Regions from separate parts of the Homo sapiens genome. Here all the other regions are linked to region 1. The links are contacts of gene promoters, found by promoter capture Hi-C in human tissues and cell types (Jung and others, 2019). All regions are on one chromosome and are shown on one strand. The core of a region is centred on a gene start or on the middle of the fragment in contact, and the rest is flanking DNA. Distances in the headings are between cores, read along the strand shown. Region 1 holds the start of MFHAS1 (multifunctional ROCO family signaling regulator 1). Region 2 has its middle 96 kb from the start of LINC02950. Region 3 has its middle 75 kb from the start of LINC02950. Region 4 has its middle 5.0 kb from the start of LINC02949.

Region 1 (2,719 bases), core at 35-2,534:
ACAGCAATAAAAATAAGCATTAGAGTTGAACAATGGACTGTGACTGTTTCCCAAAATAGCTGTTTTCTTGAGTCCGCAGAACAACAGGTACTGTATTAATGGGGATACAGTATTTGTTTCACAGCGTTGTTGTGAAGATAAACGGGATACCCCAGATAAACAGCTTGTGTCCCCCCCATCTTAACAACCCTCCTTTAGGCTGGCGGGCCACCTGCTCAAAAGCCTTCCCCAGGGGGGTTAAAACCGTCTTTTAGTAGTTCTGGTACGGGTGGGCTGGGGGAGATCCTCTAAAGCCAGTGCGACCTTGACCCCAGCCAATGTCCAGGCTCTTGACACATCCAGAGAATGAGTTCAAGGACAACTCAGAAAATAGTGACAATATGCAGATTTATTGCAAAGGGAAAAGTACACACCCAGGAAAAGGGATTGTGGAGAGGGTCACTCACAACGGGGCTTGGGGCTGCTACCTTTATGGGTTTCTTTAACCAAGGGGTGAAATATTCATGAAAATTCCTGGAAAAGTGTGGAGATTTTTCGGGACTGTGGTGCCACCCATTTTTACTTCAAATATGGGTGTCCCCGGAATTGTCATGGCACTGGTGTGACTTAGGATGTTAAAGAGCGTATAATGGAGGCCTAGGAGAAACCTAGGTCAAATCCAGGACCACGTCGGGTCCAGCCGGTCTTAGCCAGCTTGGTACACACCCTGGTTTTCAGGGTCTTATCAGCCCATAGCCTCCAGTCAAGTGAAACTGCTGCCTGGTATTTTTTATTCTCCTCTGACCAGCCTGCATTACTCCTGTCCCATGTTCAACACGAAATAGGGCCTCAGGAAATATTTACCAAATGAATGAATGGTTGCCTGTTCTAATTTTGTTTAACCACACTCTTGTCCTAAGCTTCTATGATGATACCCAGGGCCCCCGAGTTGTGCCAGTTCCACTACGGCGTGGATGCAAGGCGAGCGGCAGGGGAGCAGGTAAAGGATGAGTAAGGGAAGCCGGCGGATCCGACGCATTAGAGAACAAGAAAAAGAAATCCTTAGAGACTGGGGGCCAACAAAGAGCCAGGCGCGGGCGAACCCACCAGGGGGGCCCCGGAGCCCCACATCCGCCGCTGGGACGACCTCCCCGCCCAGCATGGTCCGGGGCGCGGACCCGGCCCCGCGCCAGGCGCCCCCGGCCCCGCACCCGGCGCCCTCCGCAGCTCCCGCCCCCGGGGCGGTGCCGGGAAAACGCGGCGCCTCCGCCGGTCACGTGGGGGCCGCTCCGGCGGGCGGCGCTGCCGCTTCCCAATCGCGCCCTCCCAGCGCCGGGGACGCGGCGCCCGCGCTCCCGCCCGAGCCCGGGGAAACGGAGACAAGGAGGCGCCGCCGCCCCCTCCCCGCGGCTGCGCCCCAGCCCTGCGCCCGCAGCATGCCCGCCGCCGGGCCGAGCGCCGCCCTCCCCCAGGAGCTCGAGGAGGCGACGCCGCTGCCGGCCGCGGGACCGCGGCTGCGAGGGTAGCGGGGCCGGAGCCGGGCCCCCCGAGGCGCCGCGCGGCGGGCGGAGAGGGAGGAGGAGCAGGCATCCTCCGCGGCGCGCGGGCGGCGGCCCTGCTGCCCGGCGCGCCCATGGCCCGGCCGCAGGGAGAATGCAAGCTGCTCTCCACGCGCTCGGCGTCCCCCGGAGCCGCTCGCGTCGCCGCCGCCCCCTAGCCGCCAGCGCTCGGCCGCTGGCTGCGCTAGGACCCGCGGCCGCCGGCCGCCGAGCGCGGGAGGGCAGGCAGGGGCAGGAGCCGGAGGGCCCGGGGCGCGGCGCGGCATGTAGCTGCGGGCTCCCGCGTCCGCGTGAGGCTGTCGGCCCGGGGCCCCGCCATGGCTGGGATGGACAGTGGCAACCTGAAGACCGCGAGGCTGTGGCGGGACGCCGCCCTGCGTGCCAGGAAGCTGCGGAGCAACCTGCGCCAGCTCACGCTTACCGCCGCCGGGGCCTGCCCCGGGGCCGGGGCCGACGCGCTCGAGTCCCCCGCCTCCCCCCAGCTCGTGCTGCCGGCCAACCTCGGGGACATTGAGGCACTGAACCTGGGGAACAACGGCCTGGAGGAGGTACCCGAGGGGCTGGGGTCGGCGCTGGGCAGCCTGCGCGTCCTGGTCCTGCGCAGGAACCGCTTCGCCCGGCTGCCCCCGGCGGTGGCCGAGCTCGGCCACCACCTCACCGAGCTGGACGTGAGCCACAACCGGCTGACCGCCCTGGGCGCGGAGGTGGTGAGTGCTCTGAGGGAGCTGCGGAAGCTCAACCTCAGCCACAACCAGCTGCCCGCCCTGCCCGCCCAGCTGGGCGCTCTCGCTCACCTGGAGGAGCTGGATGTCAGCTTTAACCGGCTGGCGCACCTGCCTGACTCCCTCTCCTGCCTCTCCCGCCTGCGCACCCTGGACGTGGATCACAACCAGCTCACTGCCTTCCCCCGGCAGCTGCTGCAGCTGGTGGCCCTGGAGGAGCTGGACGTGTCCAGCAACCGGCTGCGGGGCCTGCCTGAGGATATCAGTGCCCTGCGTGCCCTCAAGATCCTCTGGCTGAGTGGGGCCGAGCTTGGCACGCTGCCCGCCGGCTTCTGCGAGCTGGCCAGTTTGGAGAGCCTCATGCTAGACAACAACGGGCTGCAGGCTCTGCCCGCCCAGTTCAGCTGCCTGCAGCGGCTCAAAATGCTCAACCTCTCCTCCAACCTCTTCGAGGAGTTC
Region 2 (2,754 bases), core at 106-2,605, 340 kb after region 1:
TTGAGACAAAGTCTCACTCTGTCACCCAGGCTGGAGTGCAGTGATGCAATCTTGGCTCACTGCAACCTCTGCCTCCTGGGTTCAAGCAATTCTCCTGCCTCAGCCTCCTGAGTAGCTGGGACTACAGGCACGTGCCACCACGCCCAGCTAATTTTTATATTTTTAGTAGAGACAGGGTTTCACCATGTTGGCCAGGCTGGTTTCAAACTCCTGACCTCAGGTGATCTGCCCACCTCAGGTGTCCTTTGAAGCAGAGTTTTTAATTGTGATAAAAGGTCTCATTTATCTATTGTTTCTTTTGCATTTGTGGTTTTTGGTGTCACATCTAAGAAATCATTGCCTAATCCAAGGCCATGAAGACTTACCCCTATGTTTTCTTCTAGGAGAGTTATAGTCTTTGCTCCTCCATTTATGTGTTTGATTCATTTTGAGTTCATTTTTGTAGATGGTGTGAGTTAGGGATCCAACTTGATTCTATTGCTTGTGGTTATCTAATTGTCTCAGCACCATTTGTTGAAATGACTATCCTTTCCCCATTGAATGGTCTTGGTGGCACTCTTGTCAAAAATCAATTGAACACAGATGTATGATTTTATTTCTGGGCTCTCAGTTCCATTCCATTGATCTGTATGTCTATCCTTATGTCAATACCACACTGTTTTGATTATTATAGCTTCTTGATTGTTTTCATATTTGGGGGAGAAACTAAAAAAGGAACTTTTTACACTAGGGAGATTGAACTGCAAGAATTGTAAGAATACAGATGCTAAGAATACACACACAATGCTACCTATCTGATTGAGGGTAAAAATAAGGAGGTGAAAACCCTGTTTGCGTCTGAAGAAACACATAATCTGCTCTATTTAGAATAATTTTATGTTGCTGAAGAGAATACTTTGTGTTAAAATACTTTATTACAAAGAAATTTCCATTAAAAATAAAATCTTGTACTTTTTTTGAAAATTTCGTTCAAAATCTCATGACTCAAGCACAATTATTCTAATTTCTCCATGGCTTCCTTCTAGTCTTTAGTTACATTTTACATATTTTTATGCATTTTAATCATATTATATGTAGACTTTTCCTTCTTTTTAAACTTAGCATTGCTATAAACAATTTTATGCTCATATGGTTTTCATATATTAATAGGTACTTAAAATCATATTAATTTACATATCACAAGTTACTTAGCCAATTTATTATTTTATATTGTTTTTCTCACAAACTTTTTTTGCTTTTAAAAATAATAAAAGCCTTGTGCTTATGGTTTGTTTTTCTATTTTTGAAGTACTTCCTTAGGATAAATTACTATCATTATAATTAGTCAAATGGGAAGAATATTTTCACTTATTGTAGATTCTTCTCTAAAACTATGCTATCAATTTAAACTGTTGACAGCAATGTCTGATGGGTCAGTTCCTGGGTAGTCTTGCTGATATTTGGATTTAGTAGGTTTTCTTTCTGTTAACCCATCTGATAATATAAAGTGATTATTTTAATTTTTATCTTATAATTTCTAGCCAGCTTAAATACTTTTTATGCTTATCATCTTTATTTTCTTTTACATGCTTTATTGAGAATAGAGTATTTTAAAATGTTTTCTAACTATTAAAGTAATATTTGTTGAATATAGAAAAGCATGAAAAAAAAAGCCATCTATAATCCCACCATTGAGAAAGAACTAAGCTGAGTATCTTCAGAAATTGGAAGAATGTTGTATTCATAATTTGATTTTTTTTCCAATAACATCATTTGCCCATAGCTGACATATGGTATATAAATTTTACAGTATATTTTATTTACTTCTAAAATGAGTATGACAAAGTGAAAGTAGAGTGCTCACATCTGAGTTTCCAGAAAGTTCTGTGCTGGAGTTCCTGGTATGACCGACAGTGTCTGGGTCGAATTGTAAAGATCTCTGCCTTGGGACAGCTGACTCTCAAGGAAGTGGCAAAGCACAGCCTGCTAAGAACCTTGCTAATAACACACTGACGTGCTTCTCATATCTGTATTCCAAGGCCCTTCAGGAAAGGCTAGAGAGCACTACCTGTAGTTTGGCAGAGGGTCCAGTTTTTCTGCTGATCTTTTACATTTCTTAACATCAGTTTATCCTCTTTGATCTGCCCCAATTGATTCAGACTTTTAAAAGTAGATTAATCAGTGACTAGGCAGGGTGCAGTGGCTCACACCTGCAATCCCAGCACTTTGAGAGGCTGAGGCGGGCAGATTTCTTGAGCCCCGGAGTTCGAGACCAGCCTGGGCAACATAGTGAAACTCCATCTCTACAAAAAGTACAAAAAATTAGCTGGGCATAATGGGGCACACCTGTACTCCCAGCTACTTGGGAAGCTGAGGTGGGAGGATTCATCTGTGCCCAGAAGGTAGAGGCTGCAGTAAGCAATGATCGCACCACTTCACTCCAGCCTGGGCAACAAAAGAGACCCTATCTCTAAATAAGTAAATAAATAAATAAATAAATAAATAAATAAATACTTAATATTTGGAGTTTGCCATAAAGCATTTTTGGTTTGATGACTAAATATTTCCATAACTGTCACAATGAACTCAACAGCTGACTCATACTTTAAAGATTAATAAAAAGAGAAACTTTTGACCTCTATTTGATGCTTGGGGTTTCATTAAACTTATGCATCTATCCCAGCCATCATTTTTCTTTATTTTGTAATTGTTGAATCTAATTATATTCATGCATAGACCATTTTATAATTTACAAGGGTTAGAGTATCCTCGACA
Region 3 (2,822 bases), core at 316-2,815, 360 kb after region 1:
CTCTCAGAGCCAGACCAGCACTTGCATGACCCCGGGAGAGACTGAGCATCAGGGCCCTAACAAGGAGACTGACTCTGGGAGACCTCAGGGCTGTGGCTGGGTGAAGGGTCATTTGCCCAGGCAATCAGAGCAGATGGAACCCCTAAACATTAAAGGCTTAGAGAGACTGTAGAGGGTTCAACCAGAGGAGCCAAATCTGTTGTACTTATGAGTCAGTGAGTATTTGGGGAAATGCAAGGCATAGGCAGAAGGAGGAGGATGGATGCTGAATCAGAAAGAAGAGGCAGAAAGTGTAAAACCAGAGGGCGTGGGAAGCATGGCCTGGGGATGTTTTGGGAACAGGATTGAGACTGGGCACACCTTTCTTATGGGAGATGGCTTCAGTTGTGTGGTTGCTTAGGCCCGAAGCAATGAAACAGAAATAAACCAAGTAAAGAAAATAGGCTCTTTTTTTTTTTTTTTTTTTTTTTTTTTTTTTTTTTTTTTGAGATGGAGTCTTGCTTCATTGCCCAGGCTAGAGTGCAGTGACAAGATCTTGGCTCACTGCAACCTCCACCTCTGGGGTTCAAGTGATTCTCCTGTCTCAGCCTCTTGAGTAGCTGGAATTACAAGCATGTATCATCATGCCTGGCTAATTTTTGTATTTTTATTAGAGACAGGGTTTCACCATGTTGGCCAGGCTGGTCTTGAACTCCCGACCTCAGGTCATCCGCCCGCCTCGGCCTCCCCAAGTGCTGGGATTACAGGCGTGAGCCACTGCACCCAGCTTGCAAATAGGCTCTTAAAGCCTCAATTTCCTCATCTGTGAGATACAAGTAATATCTTTGTCATATGGCTGTTAGGATTAAATAGAGTGATTGTCTCCAGTGTTTCCATTTATAAAGTTCCCATCATCCTAGTCGTATGGAGTGAGAGAATATAGGTTATGCAGATGTGGGAGCCATTTATGTCCTTTTTAGAAGTTTCATGTAATATAGGGCAGGAGGTCTTAGGTCACAGACATAGGAATCAGCTATGTGTGTGTGTGTGTGTGTGTGTGTGTGTGTGTGTGTGTGTGTGTGTGTGTTCATACATTTGTGTCTAATCCTTAGCCAAATTAACCTCACCTTCTAATGCTGCTGGTTAAGGTTGTGAGGTTCCCCTTGCCTTTGGAATGTTCCCTGGTTCCTCTCTCCCTCTCCTCTAAAACTGTGAGCTGCTACAGCATAGGAAGTAGGGCTCCTCCCCCAGCACCCACTACCATGCACAAACAAAGAAAATGCTTCCTAAACACTCAGAGAATAAACAAAGAGGTGAAATCCAGTGTCTACAAGGAGATCCACTCAAAGGTCTAATGGTCAAACATAGGATTTTCCCTGAAATGTACATTTTGGTGTCTTCTGAGGTTATTGTGCCTTTTTCCTTGCTCATCTTTTCCATTTGAAAAATTGTCATCGTGTTTCCCTAAATAGACTTAGGACATCAAAGTTGGGGCGACAAATTAGAAATGTTGCAGGGCCAGGGATGTAGTGGCTCATACCTGTGATCCCAGTGGTTTGGGAGGCCAAGGTGGGAGGATCGCTTGAAGCCAGGAGTTCCAGACTAGCCTGGGCAACAAAGCAAGACCCTGTCTCTACAAATACAATACAGTACAGTACAGTACAATACAATACAATACAATACAATACAATACAATACAATACAATACAATACAATACAATACAGTACATAAAATAAAATAAAATAAAATAAAATCCAGGCATGGTGATACATACATGTAATCCCAGCTGCTCAGGAGGCTGAGGCAGGAGGATGACCTGAGCCCAGGAGTTCGAGGCTGCAGTGAGCTATGATCGAGCCACTGCACTCCAGTGTGGGTGACAAAGTGAGACCCTGTTTCAAAAAAAGAAAAAAATGAATTGTTGCTGGGTCTTAAGTTAGAAGTTAATGTTTGAGACCTGTTATAGACCTGGGAGAATGAGGTGCAGTGGGGAGAATCAAGCTTTAGAGTCTGAATCCCAGATCTGCCATTTACTGGCTATGAGACACTCAACAAATCACTTAATCCAGCTGTTCCTCAATTGCCTCATCTCTAAAATGGGAATAAGATTTGTCTCATCAAGTGGTTGAGGTTAAATGGGGGCCCAAGGTAAGCTTTCAGGATCACTCTGTTTAAAATAGGAAAGCTCGTCCCCACCCCAGTCTCTTTTTCCATTTTACTTTTCTACACTGCACTTATCCCTTTGTGATATACTATGTTATTTATTTATTTTGTTCATTGTCTGTCTCTCTCTACTCATGTGTTAAGTTCCATGAGGCTAGAAATGGACCTAATTTGAGAAGAGGAAGTATTTTGGGACCAAGCCTGATGGGAATTCTGCTGCCTAGATCCTGAGTCCTGGTATCTCTACCCCGCACGTGAAGGACTGGGTCATGTCAGATTCCAGGGGTCACCCAGTCCTTCTAGAATGTGGTTCTCAAAGAGTAGTTCATAGATACCCCCAATATGGTCTGGTTCTGTGTCCCCACCCAAATGTCACCTTGAATTGTAAGAACCCCCGCACGTTGTGGGAGGGACCCAGTGGAAGGGAATGGAATCATAGGGGCAGGCTTTTCCCATGCTGTTCTCGTGATAGTGAATAAGTCTCAAGAGATCTGGTGGTTTTAGAAAGGTGAGCTCCCCGGCACATGCCCTTATCTGCCACCATGTAAGATGTGCCTTTGCTCCTCCTCCACTTTCCACCATGATTGTGAAGCCTCCCCAGCCATGTGAAACTGTGAGTCCATTAAACCTCTTTCCTTTACAAATTACCCAGTATGGGGTATGTCTTTGTTAGCAGCAT
Region 4 (2,700 bases), core at 140-2,639, 460 kb after region 1:
TTAAAGGAAAAAACAAGACCCTCAGCTACTCCCTATCCCAAACCTCATATCACTTATATCATATAAGAAGGCTTAGAATTTTTTTTTTTTTTTTTTTTTTTTTTTGAGACGGAATCTCACTCTGTCTCCCAGACTGGAGTGCAATGGTGTAATCTCGGCTCACTGCAACTTCCCCCTCCCTGATTCAAGCGATTCTCCTGCCTCAGCCTCCGGAGTAGCTGGGACTACAGGTGCCCGCCACCACGCCCGGCTAATTTTTTTTGTGTGTAATTTTAGTAGAGACGTGGCTTCACCGTGTTAGCCAGGATGGTCTGGTGCCCAGCCTTCAGACAGATTCTTAAGGACTTTTTATATTGCTATTCTGAAATGGACAATAGCTTTTGTATACTTAAAATCCAATAGATTAATTTTAAAAAATTAAATTAAATTTTAAAAATTAATTAAAAATTAACTTAAAAAATTAATCTTAATACTCATATCTATGAGTTACAGTTTTTAAACATAAAGCTTGTTCGGGCCCGGCGCAGTGGCTCACGCCTGTAATCCCAGCACTTTGGGAGGCTGAGGCGGGTGGATCAGCAGGTCAGGAGATTGAGACCATCCTAGCTAACACGGTGAAATCCCATCTCTACTAAAAATACAAAAAATTAGCCAGGCGTGGTGACAGGTGCCTGTAGTGTGAGCTACTCAGGAGGCTGAGGCAGGAGAATGGCATGAACCCGGGAGGTGGAGCTTGCAGTGAACTGAGATTGCGCCACTGCACTCCAGCCTGGGCGACAGAGCAAGACTCTGTCTCAAATAAATAAATAAATAAATATTGTTCTTGTGTTACATGTCATTGTAGATTAGAATCACATGTACTTGGCCAGGCATGGTGGCTTGTGTCTGTAATCCCAGCCCTTTGGGAGGCTGAAGTGGGCAGATCACCTGAGGTCAGGAGTTCGAGACCAACCTGGCCAACATGGTGAAACCCCGTCTCTAATAACAATACAAAAATTAGATGGGCGTGGTGACAGGTGCCTGTAGTCCCAGCTACTCTGGAGGCTGAGGCAGGAGAATCGCTTGAACCCGGGAGGCGGAGGTTGAAGTGAGCCCAGATCTTGCCGCTGCACTCCAGCCTGGGTGACAAGAGTGAGACTCTGTCTCAAAAAAATAAAAAAGAATCACCTGTACTTAGAGAGCAACATCTGATCCCAAGTTTAGTAGTGACACAGTGTATAAATCTGGGGACTTGAGAGACAGGCCATGGGAGGACATTTGTACTTAGAGAACATCAGTATATAAGCAAGTTGTTATACAAGTAAGTGTGTGTGTATGCAATCGCGCGCGCGTGTGTGTGTGTGTGTGTGTGTGTGTGTGTTTTGGGTTGGTGAGTGAGTCAGGCAAAGCATATATTGAAACTTACTTCAAAGACACTTTTGAAGGCTGACCACTATTATGTAAACAATGAAAAGAATTTGACTGATCAAAGAGAGAAGTTTGTAAATGACCTCTGCCATGCATGCATCTTGAATATTTGTTTTCACTTACACAAAGTCTGTATCCTGTCAAAGTCATGGTTAAAATATTTGAAGTTTGAACAGGCATGGGTAATTGTGGGAGATAACTTGTGGGGGATAATTTATGATAGGAAAATCATAAATTCACATGAGGAAGAGGAAACTACCTCATCTGTCCTATCCTAGGAAAGTCTGATGATGATGATGGTAATGATGACAGTGACGATAAAAATGATGTTGTTGGTGATATTGATGATAGTGGTAATGGTGATGATGGCTGTGGTAGTATTGATGATGATGGTGTTAATCATGTTTCTGCTGGCTATGGTTGTGGTTGTCAAATTGTTCCTTACAGGGGCTGATTCTTCAGATTTTTATAGCAACTTTGTCCCAGTTGGCTCCACTGAACCAAACAGGACTTCCTGAAGTTTCATATTATCTCAGAAGCAAAAACACAGAAAAAGAGTCATCTTTGTTTTAAAAGAGTGGAAGAAAATGTACCAAAGTGAGAGACCATCTATCTTATCAGAAATAGTATTTTTATTCCATAGCGAACCTGGGATCTGAGCCTTAATTCCCAGGCAGCTCTCCAGCCATACGAATTCACTGTGACATTCAGTGGTGTTCTGAAGCTTTGTTGTATTCTGGTAAAGGTTACAAAAATATCCATTTTGAAGTGCCAATGTGAGTTTCTCTAGAAATACAATTTTTAGCAGCATCAGGATTAATATGAACATTTCAGAAGTTAAACTGATTGTTTAAAAAAAAAAAAAAGAGTAAGCCAAGCATGATGGCTCATGCCTGTAATTGCAGCACTTTGGAAGGCACAGGTGGGTGAATTGCTTGAGTCCAGAAGTTTGAGAACAGCCTGGCCAACATGGGGAAACTCCATCTCTACAAAAAATACAAATATTAGCCAGGCATGATGGTGTGTGCCTGTAGTCCCAGCTACTCAGGATGTGAGGTGGGAGGATCTCTTGAGCCCGGGAGGTGCAGGTTGCAGTGAGCCACGATCGTGCTGCTGCATTCCAGCTTGAGTGATGGAGCGAGACCCTGCCTCAACAACAACAACAACAAAAAAAAAAAAAAAAAAGAGAGAGAGAGAGAAAAGAAAGAGTAAACAGCAAGATATTATACAATTCTGAGGAACTCGGGTTCAAATCTCATCTTCCCACTCTCATGCTTTATGAAATTAAACAAG

Evidence for each region. Contacts are between HindIII fragments. The study calls those that stand out against the background at their distance.
Region 2: a contact is called between a fragment that was not itself captured here and the fragment with the promoter of MFHAS1 in region 1, in 2 of the 25 tissues and cell types used here (dorsolateral prefrontal cortex and mesendoderm cells).
Region 3: a contact is called between a fragment that was not itself captured here and the fragment with the promoter of MFHAS1 in region 1, in 2 of the 25 tissues and cell types used here (bladder and thymus).
Region 4: a contact is called between a fragment that was not itself captured here and the fragment with the promoter of MFHAS1 in region 1, in 1 of the 25 tissues and cell types used here (lymphoblastoid cells).

Annotation. Positions count from the first base shown.
Region 1 is chr8:8,892,195-8,894,913 of GRCh38, reverse strand. It overlaps MFHAS1 (multifunctional ROCO family signaling regulator 1), which reads left to right and starts at 1,284. Exons shown (of 3, transcript NM_004225.3): 1 at 1,284-2,719. The coding sequence starts at 1,856. RefSeq lists silencers at 1,139-1,388, 1,399-1,678, 1,789-2,058 and an enhancer at 1,903-2,719. The HindIII fragment of the contact is 6,822 bases long and covers 1-2,719 here.
Region 2 is chr8:8,556,339-8,559,092 of GRCh38, reverse strand. No RefSeq gene overlaps it. Among named protein-coding and RNA genes, the nearest start is that of LINC02950, 96 kb to the right of the region's middle. The HindIII fragment of the contact is 4,839 bases long and covers 1-2,754 here.
Region 3 is chr8:8,534,950-8,537,771 of GRCh38, reverse strand. No RefSeq gene overlaps it. Among named protein-coding and RNA genes, the nearest start is that of LINC02950, 75 kb to the right of the region's middle. The HindIII fragment of the contact is 5,628 bases long and covers 1-2,822 here.
Region 4 is chr8:8,428,259-8,430,958 of GRCh38, reverse strand. No RefSeq gene overlaps it. Among named protein-coding and RNA genes, the nearest start is that of LINC02949, 5.0 kb to the right of the region's middle. The HindIII fragment of the contact is 5,506 bases long and covers 1-2,700 here.